3 separate regions of the Homo sapiens genome follow, and all the other regions are linked to region 3. Evidence: promoter capture Hi-C in human tissues and cell types (Jung and others, 2019). All regions are on one chromosome and are shown on one strand. Each heading gives the region's core, a stretch centred on a gene start or on the middle of the fragment in contact. The rest is flanking DNA. Distances are from core to core; before and after follow the strand shown. Region 1 overlaps NUP210L (nucleoporin 210 like). Region 2 holds the start of NUP210L (nucleoporin 210 like). Region 3 holds the start of TPM3 (tropomyosin 3).

The links. Contacts are between HindIII fragments. The study calls those that stand out against the background at their distance.
Region 1: a contact is called between a fragment that was not itself captured here and the fragment with the promoter of TPM3 in region 3, in 1 of the 25 tissues and cell types used here (psoas muscle).
Region 2: a contact is called between the fragment with the promoter of NUP210L here and the fragment with the promoter of TPM3 in region 3, in 1 of the 25 tissues and cell types used here (adrenal gland).

What each region holds. Positions count from the first base shown.
Region 1 is chr1:154,132,689-154,136,156 of GRCh38, reverse strand. It overlaps NUP210L (nucleoporin 210 like), which reads left to right. Exons shown (of 40, transcript NM_207308.3): 7 at 185-343. Among named protein-coding and RNA genes, the nearest start is that of NUP210L, 21 kb to the left of the region's middle. The HindIII fragment of the contact is 5,197 bases long and covers 1-3,468 here.
Region 2 is chr1:154,152,809-154,156,585 of GRCh38, reverse strand. NUP210L (nucleoporin 210 like) reads left to right here and starts at 1,513. Exons shown (of 40, transcript NM_207308.3): 1 at 1,513-1,744; 2 at 3,714-3,777. The coding sequence starts at 1,542. It also overlaps a transcript of TPM3 not described here. RefSeq lists a silencer at 395-572 and enhancers at 1,179-1,679, 1,680-2,180. The HindIII fragment of the contact is 16,458 bases long and covers 1-3,777 here.
Region 3 is chr1:154,190,540-154,194,458 of GRCh38, reverse strand. It overlaps TPM3 (tropomyosin 3), which reads left to right and starts at 2,359. Exons shown (of 10, transcript NM_152263.4): 1 at 2,359-2,557; 2 at 3,148-3,273. The coding sequence starts at 2,441. It overlaps MIR190B (microRNA 190b), which reads left to right and starts at 716; the gene lies at 716-794. The HindIII fragment of the contact is 10,185 bases long and covers 1-3,919 here.

The DNA.
Region 1 (3,468 bases), core at 473-2,972, 58 kb after region 3:
TTAACTCATATACTCCCCCCAAATGGTTACATGTAGAAATTCATCATAGCAGGAAAAACATTAGAAGCAGATCATACTCTTATTTTATGTCTGCTTCCTGATCATTCCTTTATGATCAAGAATACATCATTATCTACTGGAATGGCTGCTGTCATTACATTTATGTATCTTTCATGTCTTACAGAGGTGAAATTTCCCCTGGAACATTATATACTGGAATTGCAAGACCATAGAGTTGCACTTAACGGGTCTCATTCTGAGAAAGTGGCTATACTGGATGACAAAACAGCCATGGTGACTGCCTCACAACTGGGCCAGACTAATCTTGTCTTTGTCCATAAAAGTATCCTTTTGTTCAAGTTTTAGCTGCCAGTCTACACTTCCTTGAGCATCCTAGACATGTTCTTTGGTAAAATAATTTATTAAGAATGATTATGGCCGGGCGCGGTGGCTCACGCCTGTAATTCCAGCACTTTGGGAGGCCGAGGCGGGCTGATCACAAGGTCAGGAGATCGAGACCATCCTGGCTAACACGGTGAAACCCTGACTCTACTAAAAATACTAAAAATTAGCCAGGCGTGGTGGCGGGCGCCTGTAGTCCCAGCTACTCGGGAGGCTGAGGCAGGAGAATGGTGTGAACCCGGGAGGCAGAGGTTGCAGTGAGCCAAAATCGTGCCACTGCACTCCAACCTGGGCGGCACAGCGAGACTCCGTCTCAAAAAAAAAAAAAAGATTATAATACTACTACAGTGTTTTCCTATAGGTTTTATTTTTAATAAAGAATTATAAGTTATTACTGTCATAATTTCTAGCAGAGTAAGTAGAGAAAAGGAGTATAGTTGGAACTTGGGATCTACTAACTTCAATGCTTATTTGCAACCTCAATCAAATTGTAATTAGGGAAATAAAAAAACTGTAATTAGGGGAATGGGGAAAACGGAGTTTGGAAGAACATGTGAGAATTTTATTTAATTCTCTTTTCTATTTGTACATGATAATTGAGAAAATATGCTATTGTCTCCAGTAGATGTTTAACTAATATTTTTATTGTGTTGAGAGCAATTTTTAAAAATTCACTAAACCTGCTATGCAAGGATTGAACAAAGAAAGGTACACAGAGGCCGGGCGTGGTGGCTCACGCATGTAATCCCAGCACTTTGGGAGGCCGAGGCCGGCTGATCACCTGAGGTCGGGAGTTTGAGAACAGCTTGACCAACATGAAGAAACCCCGTCTCTACTAAAAATACAAAAATTAGCCGGGCGTGGTGGTGCATGCCTGTAATCCCAGCTACTCGGGAGGCTGAGGCAGGAGAATCGCTTGAACCCCCGGGAAGTGGAGGTTGCGGTGAGCCAAGATCGCACCACTGCACTCCAGCCTGGGCAACAAGAGCAAAACTCCATCTTTTTTTTTTTTTTTTTTTTGAGACGGAGTCTCGCTGTCGCCCAGGCCGGAGTGCAGTGGCGCAATCTCGGCTCACTGCAGGCTCCGCCCCCGGGGTTCACGCCGTTCTCCTGCCTCAGCCTCCCGAGTAGCTGGGACTACAGGCGCCCGTCACCTCGCCCAGCTAATTTTTTGTATTTTTAGTAGAGACGGGGTTTCACTGTGTTAGCCAGGATGGTCTCGATCTCCTGACCTTGTGATCTGCCCGCCTCGGCCTCCCAAAGTGCTGGGATTACAGGCGTGAGCCACCGCGCCCGGCCTGAAACTCCATCTCAAAAAAAAAAAAAAAAAAGGTACACGGAGATCTGTAATAGTCAATGAAAACAGAAGAGAATGAAGATTTAAATTCTCAGAAAATTGAAATATGATTTGGACTCCATCTCTCTGTGTTTTATTTGGTATTTTTTTTGAATATTTTAATCTGAAAGAAATTCATTCAGCAAATATCTATTATATTTCTACTATATGCTCAACATTGTTCTAAGCTCTGGGTATACAAATTGCCATTTTGTCCAGTATAGTTAGATTCTTAAAATATTATTATTATTATTATTATTTTTTTTTTGAGGTGGAGTTTTGCTCTTGTTGCCCAAGCTGGAGTGCAGTGGCGCGATTTCTGCTCACTCCCACCTCCGCCTCCCAGGTTCGAGTTATTCTCCTGCCTCGGCCTCCTAAGCAGCTGGGATTACAGGTGTGCGCCACCATGCCCGGCTAATTTTTGTATTTTTAGTAGAGATGGGGTTTCACCATGTTGGCCAGGCTGGACTTGAACTCCTGACCTCAGATGATCCACCCACTTCGGCCTTCCACAGTGCTGGGATTACAGGCATGAGCCACTGTGCCTGGCCAAAAAATTATTATTTTTGTAGAGACAGGGTCTCACTCTGTTGCCCAGGCTGGAGTGCAGTGGTGCAATCTTGGCTCTTGGCTCACTGCAACCTGTAAACTCCAGGCTCAAGTGATCCTCCCAGCTCAGCCTCCCAAGTAGCTGGGACCACAGGCACGTGCCACCACGCCCAGCTAATTTTTGTATTTTTTTATAGACACAAGGTCTCGCCATGTTGCCCACACTGCTCTTGAACTCCTGGACTCAAGCGATTCACCTGCCTTGGCCTCCCAAAGTGCTAGGATTCCAGGCATGAGCCACCACACCCAGCCAGATTTTTTTTTTTTTTTTTAGAGATAGAGTCTCACTCTGATGCCCAGGTTAGAGTGCAGAGGCATGATCATAACTCATAGTAGCCTTGAGCAATCCTCCCACCTCAGCCTTCTGAGTAGCTGGGACTATAGGCATACACCACCGTGCCATACTAATTGTGTCTTTTTTTGTAGAGATGTCTTGCTAGGCTGAGTAGGCTGGATGAACTACTGGCCTTAAATGAACCTCCTGCCTAGGCCTCCCAAAGTGCTTGGATTACAGGTGTGATCCACCACACCCAGTCTTTACCTAGCATAGTTAGAAAAGTCCTCTCTGATGAGGCGACACTGGCACAATAAGCCATGTGGATAATTGGTGAAAGACTTCTAGGGAAAGGAAAGAGCAATGGCAAAGGTTCTGAAGTAGGAACATATTTGGCATGATTAAAGAAGAGTAAGGAAGACAGTGAAGCTAAAGTGCAGTGAATCAGGAAATAGTAGAAGTAATAGAGTAGGGGAGGGGCAGATTAGGTAGGGCCTAGTAGGCTTACTCTGAATAAGAATGTCTCTACTTTGGGCACACTGTCTATAGCGTAGCCCTGCTCCAAAAGGAGCAGTACCTCTGCTACTCCACTTCAAGAAAAGTTGCCAACACCAAAAAAATTCTATCAGACTTGAAAGGTACAGTATTTCTTGTATAATATTGTTAGTTAGCAGCCTATATTATTTGTCTAACACACATTAAGGAGAGTTATTGATCCAATGTTGTTTGCTTTTTAGTCATTTTAAGGTACCTAGGACATTTTTCAACAAATACAATCATACCTACAAAATAAATTAAGTTATTCAATATTTATTGAGCCCCAACTGTGTGTCAGGAACTTCCCTGA
Region 2 (3,777 bases), core at 264-2,763, 37 kb after region 3:
TGTTGATCTTTTAAGTTTCCTTCCCTACCCAGTCCCCATTTTCTGGTAAGGTTTCTAGGAGGTCTGTTAGGTGTACATCCTGCAGCTTATTGGCTTAAAATGTACTCTCCTTTTATGTGGTCTCTTTGGGGCCGATTGGGAGAAAGAGAAATCAATAGTGCAACTGTTTTGATACTGAATATTGACAAGTGTCTTTTTGAAATAAAGAACCAGTCCCTCCAACCCTCAGACCTATTTGACTTTTATTTATTAAAACTAAATGTGCTTTCTCCACAGAAGCTATGAGGTTTGGGTTAAAAATAGCATCTTTGTGGGTGGTAGCAACAGGATTTATTCTTTATTATTATTATTTTTGAGATGAAGTTTCATTCTTGTTGCCTGGGCTGGAGCGTAATGGCTCGATCTCGGCTCACTGCAACCTCCGCCTCCTGGTTCAAGAGATTCTCCTGCCTCAGCCTCCCGAGTAGCTGGGATTACAGGCACCTGCCACCATGCCCGGGTAATTTTTTATATTTTAAGTAGAGACAGGGCTTCACCATGTTGGCCAGGCTGGTCTCGAACTCCTGACCTTCAGGTGATCCACCTGCCTCAGCTTCCCAAAATGCTGGGATTACGGGCGTGAGCCACCGCACCCAGCTGGAGCAACAGGATTTAATATAGAGCAAATGTTTAGTTTTATCATCTGTAAAATGGAGATAAGTATTGTCAGAGTAAACATGAAGATTAGAAAGAACACTTAATGTGCTGGGCCTTTTATAGGTTAACACTGACATCTCAGGCTGAACTATATACATTTTCCTTCACAACCATATCAATCCTTATAAACTATGGATTTATGCTCCTTAAAACAATATATAATGCTGATCACTACTATAAATGCGTGGTTTTAACCAACTGTACTGAAACAGCTTTGAGTTTATATTCTGTTTGGATATTTGGAGAAAACAACAAGTGCTCTCAAGAGTATTTGCTTAGAGGCCGGCTGTGTGAGTGGATAACTTTGAAAGCTGCTTTTGAGACGCCAGTGTCTGGCATTTCCTGCATTCTGGCCTGGAGGCCGGACGTGAATCTGACTTCTAGTAAAAATACACGGTTCCCTTGACAAAGTCGAGCTGTTTATCCCAGAGACTGCACAATTTTCCGTTGATAGGCATGGACCAATGCTAACTGGAAATCATTGCAAAAAGTTTTTTTGTCGGGCGGAGGGTGTGGTGTTAAGATAAACAGTGTGCAACAGAAGAAATTAAAACTGGAAGAAATTAAAGGGTTTTTTTTAGACTTTTCTGCTTGTTCCTTACTGTTAAAAAGGTCTGCCATCCAGTATTTAGGAAAGCCCTTTAAGAGAGTTTGAGGTGTTTTAGCTGGGTTTGTGCCAAAAGTTTCCATTATATTGGCTTGCTGAAGGACTGCATTTAAAAATGCCCACACATCCGAGCAAGAAGCAGGTCCCATCCCCCTCTGCTGACGTCACGCCTGTGGATTGGCTGATGGAGCTGTGAGCCGGCTGTAGTTGAGCGGGAACCCGAGACCTGGCAGTCGCCATGACTGGCTGTCCGGCGTCATCAAGACGCCGAGGCTTCGGGCTCTTTTTCTTCTTGCGTCTACACCGCCTCCTGTTGTTGTTTCTGGTTTTGCGTGGGACCCTGGCCAACAAACTTAACGTGCCACAGGTGTTGCTACCCTTCGGCCGAGAGCCAGGCCGGGTGCCTTTCCTGCTGGAGGCCCAGCGGGGCTGCTACACTTGGTGAGGGGTGGTGGGTGACAAGGATATGCACCCTCACTACCATCCAGTAAGGGTGAGGGGGGTTCCCTCTGTAAGATCCCACAGGAATACCGTGTGGGGCCGCGTGAAGGGGCCTAGCCGGTAGGGGAGGAGAGTGTGGTGTCAGTGAAGGTGGCGAGGAGCAGACCCTTGGGTGTGGCGTGTCCTACTCATGTGGTATATCCTCCAGCTGTGTGACAATCTTCCAGACGTGTGAGGAATTCTCGGGATGTGGGACTGGCCTCTTCTCTGTGTGTGTTGGGAAGGGGTGGTCACTATGAGCAGCCGTCAGGGTAAAGGGAAGCCCTGTGTTGGAGGCCACAGGTACTGATGACTTCCAATGTAAACAACTAGAGTAAGAGGAAGTTCCCCATATCTGAGGAAATTTCTGTAGGAACAGGAAAACTTGGGGTGCGAGGGTCCCCACTAACTATAGATGAGCTATTCAATGTGAGAAGGACTTAAAACACAACAGCCAAGTATTGGGGGTTAACTAAGCACTTTACATGTGTTAACTCATTCGCTTTTTGCAGTCTTATGAAGTAAGTACTATTACTCCCATTTCACAGACGAGGAAAGTGAGGCCCAGAGACTATGAAGTGTAAACTTCTGGGAATATGAGAAGATTTATCGTGGGTGGAGATGAGATCTGTCTGTATTATCAAAATTGCCCCATTTATAAAAGGGTACCCGCTTGAAGTGTGAGGACAGGGGGTACACACAACTCCGGGATAATGACTTCCTGACTGAAGATGAAGAGACATGATTTTCTGGTGTGAGAGGACCCAATGATGGGTTATGTGGTTGCCTAAGGTATGAGAGAACCTAACCGAAGTGAGCTTCAGGATGCCAGTGCATTCATCCTAGATGGAGTAGATACCCCTTTGCCATCTCCTAGGAGAAGCAATGAGGTTTGTTCCGAGTATAAATTCACCTCTCATTTTATGAGGAAGTATAAGGAAAGTGAGCTTGTAAGATGATCCAGTGTGACGTGTGTGTTTCCTGACCGTGAGGGTGATGCAAGGCATCTTTCCAGCATTGAAAGCCATTTCTTCTATCACTCCAAAAATATTAATGAGGCCAGGCATGGTGGCTCACGCCTGTAATCCCAGCACTTTGGGAGGCCAAGGCAGGAGGATTACTTGAGGCCAGGAGTTTGAGACCAGCCGGATCAACATAGTGAGACCCCGTCTCTATTTAAAATAAAAACATTCGGCCGGGCGCAGTGGCTCACGCCTGTAATCCCAGCACTTTGGGAGGCCGGGGCAGGCAGATCACTTGAAGTCAGGAGTTCAAGACCAGCCTGGCCAACATGATGAAAGCCCATCCCTACTAAAAATACAAAAATTAGTCGGGCATAGTGGCAGACACCTGTAATCTCAGCTACTCGAGAGGCTGAGGCAGGAGAATCGCTTGAACCCTGGAGGCGAATGTTGCAGTGAGCTGAGATCGCCCTGCTGCACTTCAGCTTGGGCAACAAAGTGACTCGGTCTCAAAAACATAATAATAAATAAGAATAAAAATATTTATGAATGTTTTTGGTATTTTGAGTTGGACTCACACCTCATAATTTAGGCACCTTTTCCATCCTAGATATCAGAAGCCTGGTTTCTAGGATTGAAGGAAACTTTCCTCAGAGTATGAGAAAGTCCCCTCTCATTACTAGAAACACATCAGTCGTATTTCTGCATACTGAGGGAAGAATATAAAAATCTTTTAAAAAAAATTGAGGGAGGGATATTTCTGGGACTTTGTTCAAGGGATCATTGGGAAAGTTCTCATCAATCTCTCAGTTTAATTATCGCATCCCTAAGCAATGTTCCTTCTTTAAAAAGTGTCATTTACATATACCTGGTAGTATGTAACATGGAAGAAGTGTGAGAATCTATGTTCCACTAAAAGTTAATTTTAACCCACCTATTTCACACTCTTAAGAATTTTGTTCTGGCAGGCATTCCACCCATCATGATGCAGTTACTGTTGAGCCTTTATATGAAAATGGCACCTTGTGTTCC
Region 3 (3,919 bases), core at 1,110-3,609:
GGGAACTATAAGTCTTCTCTTCTGGAGCCCACGATGGAGCCTGCCAGGGAGACAAGTTATTCTTCTGTTCTGGACATCCAAGGGTGACTTTAAGGAGGATGCCTGGAGGACATGGGGAGAAGGTGAGAAGGGTTAAGCTGGCAGAAAGGGGAAGCCAAGCATCTGCAGCACTTAAGAGCAGGACGGTGCCAGGATGGTGCCTCCTGAACGGACCTCAGTAGTCTTGTGGGGGTGATCTGGGAAGGTTAGGAGTTCTGTTGGAAAGGTAAAGCAGGGTGTACAAGTCCTCTGCCCCCACCCCGGAAAGCCTCAGGGCAGCTGGAATGGCATTGAAGAGAGCAGGTGGCAATTTTGATGAGGAGCTGCTGACACGGCTGATCCTCTGGGCGCTGGGGCCGTGACATCAGGGTGAGAAGCTCTGTGTGGGAGCTCTAGGGAACGATAGTTGCCCGGATGTGGAGCCCTGCCAGGTATTCTTCCTGGTTTAGGCCAACGTGATCCAGCAAAGGCCAGGAGCTTGTAGAGGAGGAGCTGAGGCAGGGATGACACGTAGGACAATAAGCAAGAGCTGGCTGTCTTGGGAGGTGAAGAGCAGGAGCCAGTACCCTTCCTCAAGGAGATGGCTCTCCACCTAGACATGATTGGTGCCTGGTGTCTGCTCTATTCTTTCTTTGCAACTGGAAGGAAGGCAGATGACCCCCAAAGCTCTCCTGCCTGCTTCTGTGTGATATGTTTGATATTGGGTTGTTTAATTAGGAACCAACTAAATGTCAAACATATTCTTACAGCAGCAGGTGATTCAGCACCACCCTCTTTCATACTTCAATCTCTGGGGCTCCTGTCTCTTTTACTGAACCTCTTCTCTCCAGGACCCCCCCAAAAGTCCAGTAGCTGCAACCTATGTGCATTTCAATCTTAACCTAAGAGGGCTGGTGTGGGAATGGGAGAGAGTTGGAATTTGAGGATAGAATCTTTCTATTTCTTGTCCCCTTATACTAGAAGGGACATTTCTTTGCCTTTTCTTGTCCTCGTATTTTTCTCCCCCTTATTCACTTGCCCACCCCCCCCCCATTTTCCACTCCTTCCTCTCCCTGTTCCCTAACCCCTTTCCCTGGCTAATCTCCAGAGAAAGGAGACTTGGTTTCTCCTCTCTCTGTCGAGAGTCAGCTGATGGTCTATCTGCCTATCTACCTCTAGTGACTGGAAGCTCTCAATAGTGGACTCCAGCTCTGCTCTACCCACTGGCCTGGTGGGTGTCTCCGTTCCCCCATTGCTGGGGCTTAGCATTAACTCTCAGTATCCTGACATAAATGACTAACTAGAGCCATTTATATTTGTCCAATATATCTGGTCACCTTGAACAGTGCCCACCTCTCCCTTGGCATATTTTCAGGTGTATGGTGCCAGTGGACTGGTATCCTTGCCACCTGTTAGTAACAAGGCTCCCAATGGAAGAATAAACATGGTCTGGAACTAAACTGGAAAGAATAGAGCTGATAATGATGATTACGATGATGTGGTGAGTGGCAGCGTTGGGGAGAATTAAGAAGGGAGAAGATAAAGGGAAGAAGAGGAGAGAGCCACACAGACCAAAGTCTGTGTGGGTACAACAGTTCTATTTTAAGATTACTGTGGGAAAACAAAGGGTATGATCCTGTCTGGATTGTTCTGACCCTCCCCTGTTTCTCTCCCCACCCCACTTGAAGCTCTGGGATAGCCTTCAAGGATAGGGTTGGAGATTCCAACCCTACCTCTTACTCTACTCTTGTGGCTCTTGGTGGGGAGGAAAAACGTCTCCCTGCCAATCGGAGACTCCCAGAATAGCACAGCAATTTGATCTGGGGATCTGGGAGAATTGTTAAGGATCATGAGTGACCTCCCCTCTTCCCTGTGCCCAAGCTCCTTGAATACCAGGAATCAAAAGCTAAAACTCAACTAACGGAGTTTGACCAGCATTCAACACAGTCTGGGGGAGAGTGAAACGGGAAGCTGAAAGGCAACCAGGACCCCCTGGATGCAAACTGCCAACCTAGAATTGCCAAAGTACACTTCTCTATTTCAATGTTCTTCCCTCCCCTCTTCCTCTTCTTTTAAAACATCCATAGAGCTGCCCAGAATGAGTGGAAAGTTTCAGGGTCAGGGAGAACCTCTTCCCTCCCCCACTTTCCATTGTCTAAAATCAGCCTCAGCTGTTGCTAGATATTTTTTTTGCTGGTGATGTCAGTTCATCAAAGCGTCTCACCCTGTGTTCCCCCAGGAGAACAATGATGGGGTGGAGGGAGCTGGAAAGACCATATTAGGAACAAAAGGTGGAGCTATGAGCACAGATAAAGACTCAAGTCTGGGGACCTCCTGGTCACTCAGGCAGCAGCCCCTTCTTTCTTGCCCCAGTCTCCAGTTCTCCAGTGTTCACAGGTGAGCCTACCAACAGCCACTGCTCATGATGGAGGCCATCAAGAAAAAGATGCAGATGCTGAAGTTAGACAAGGAGAATGCTCTGGATCGGGCAGAGCAAGCTGAAGCTGAGCAGAAGCAGGCAGAAGAAAGAAGTAAACAGGTAGGCACTGGCATTGATCTCTCTCATCTGCTAGTGAACAAGACTGTGAAATGGAAGGGAGTTTTCATGGGAAAGACAGTGACTACTGGTGTCACCTCCTTTTTGGGGGTGGGATGGACTCCCCAGCCTCACTGGAGGAGCAGAGGATATCTAACATATCTGTCTCAGACTGCCTTTGTGACCTTGGGAAAGTCAGTGAGCCACAGTATGTCTGCTGAATTTAAGTAGAAATGGACCATGTTTTGGAAGAACCCTTGACTTCTAGAGGAAAAGGTAAGAGTTCTAGAGGGAAAGAGCATCTCTTTTCACTCAAATAGCATCACGGGCATCTACACTTTAGATATTTATCATCCAGGGGTCTTGGATGAAAACCCAGGATGGCTTGGTCATCTTAGGATCAGAGATTACAGGGTCACAGGCCAAGCTACGGCATAACTCCTGAGGCAGTGGGCTGGAAGTGGCTGGGGAGAAAGTGTGTCTCACTAGGGATGGTAACATGGAGGTTACACTCAGGGCTCCAAGAGCCCAGGGTCCAACCCTGCATTGTTGTGTTTGTGTGTTTTTGTGTGTGACTCTCTGGGCTCCTATAGCTGGAGGATGAGCTGGCAGCCATGCAGAAGAAGCTGAAAGGGACAGAGGATGAGCTGGACAAGTATTCTGAAGCTTTGAAGGATGCCCAGGAGAAGCTGGAACTGGCAGAGAAGAAGGCTGCTGATGTGAGTATTAGAGAGATGGAGGATGGGTTTAATCTACACATATAGATCTTTATGTTAATGTATGACGAAATTCCAAACACACTTGTGGGTTCATGGAACACAGACATATATACTCACATACATTTTTGCATATAACCACATGCTGGTATATTCTCATAATGGCATGTATTTTCTTTCTTAAAGACATCTCCAACATGTTAAAAGTTTTTTTTTAATACATGTAAAGGTCTCATTTATCTCCTATCACCAACCCAGGAATTTAATTATCTTTCCCAGGACCTGGACAAAGAGAGGGGACTCTAAGTTCAGAATGCTGTCACTTATCCTACCTCCTCCCCCATGCCACATTCTTAGCTTTTATGTCCAAGTCTTGGCATGTGGATATGTGTATTAATAGGGAACCTCTCATCTCTCAACTGTCCAACAAAACCAGCTCGGATTTCACAATGGGAAATGGAGGTCACACTGACCCTGGCCATATATGGGTTTATTTATCTTGGCCAATGCAGGCATTTGCCTTTATGCCATGGAGATGCCATATGAAGCATTGCTCCTAGGGCAGCAGAGAGATCCCTACAGTGACAGAGTATAATAGAAACTAAGAAAGAATCTTAGGGGGTAAAGGTATCACCACCAGACTTCACTC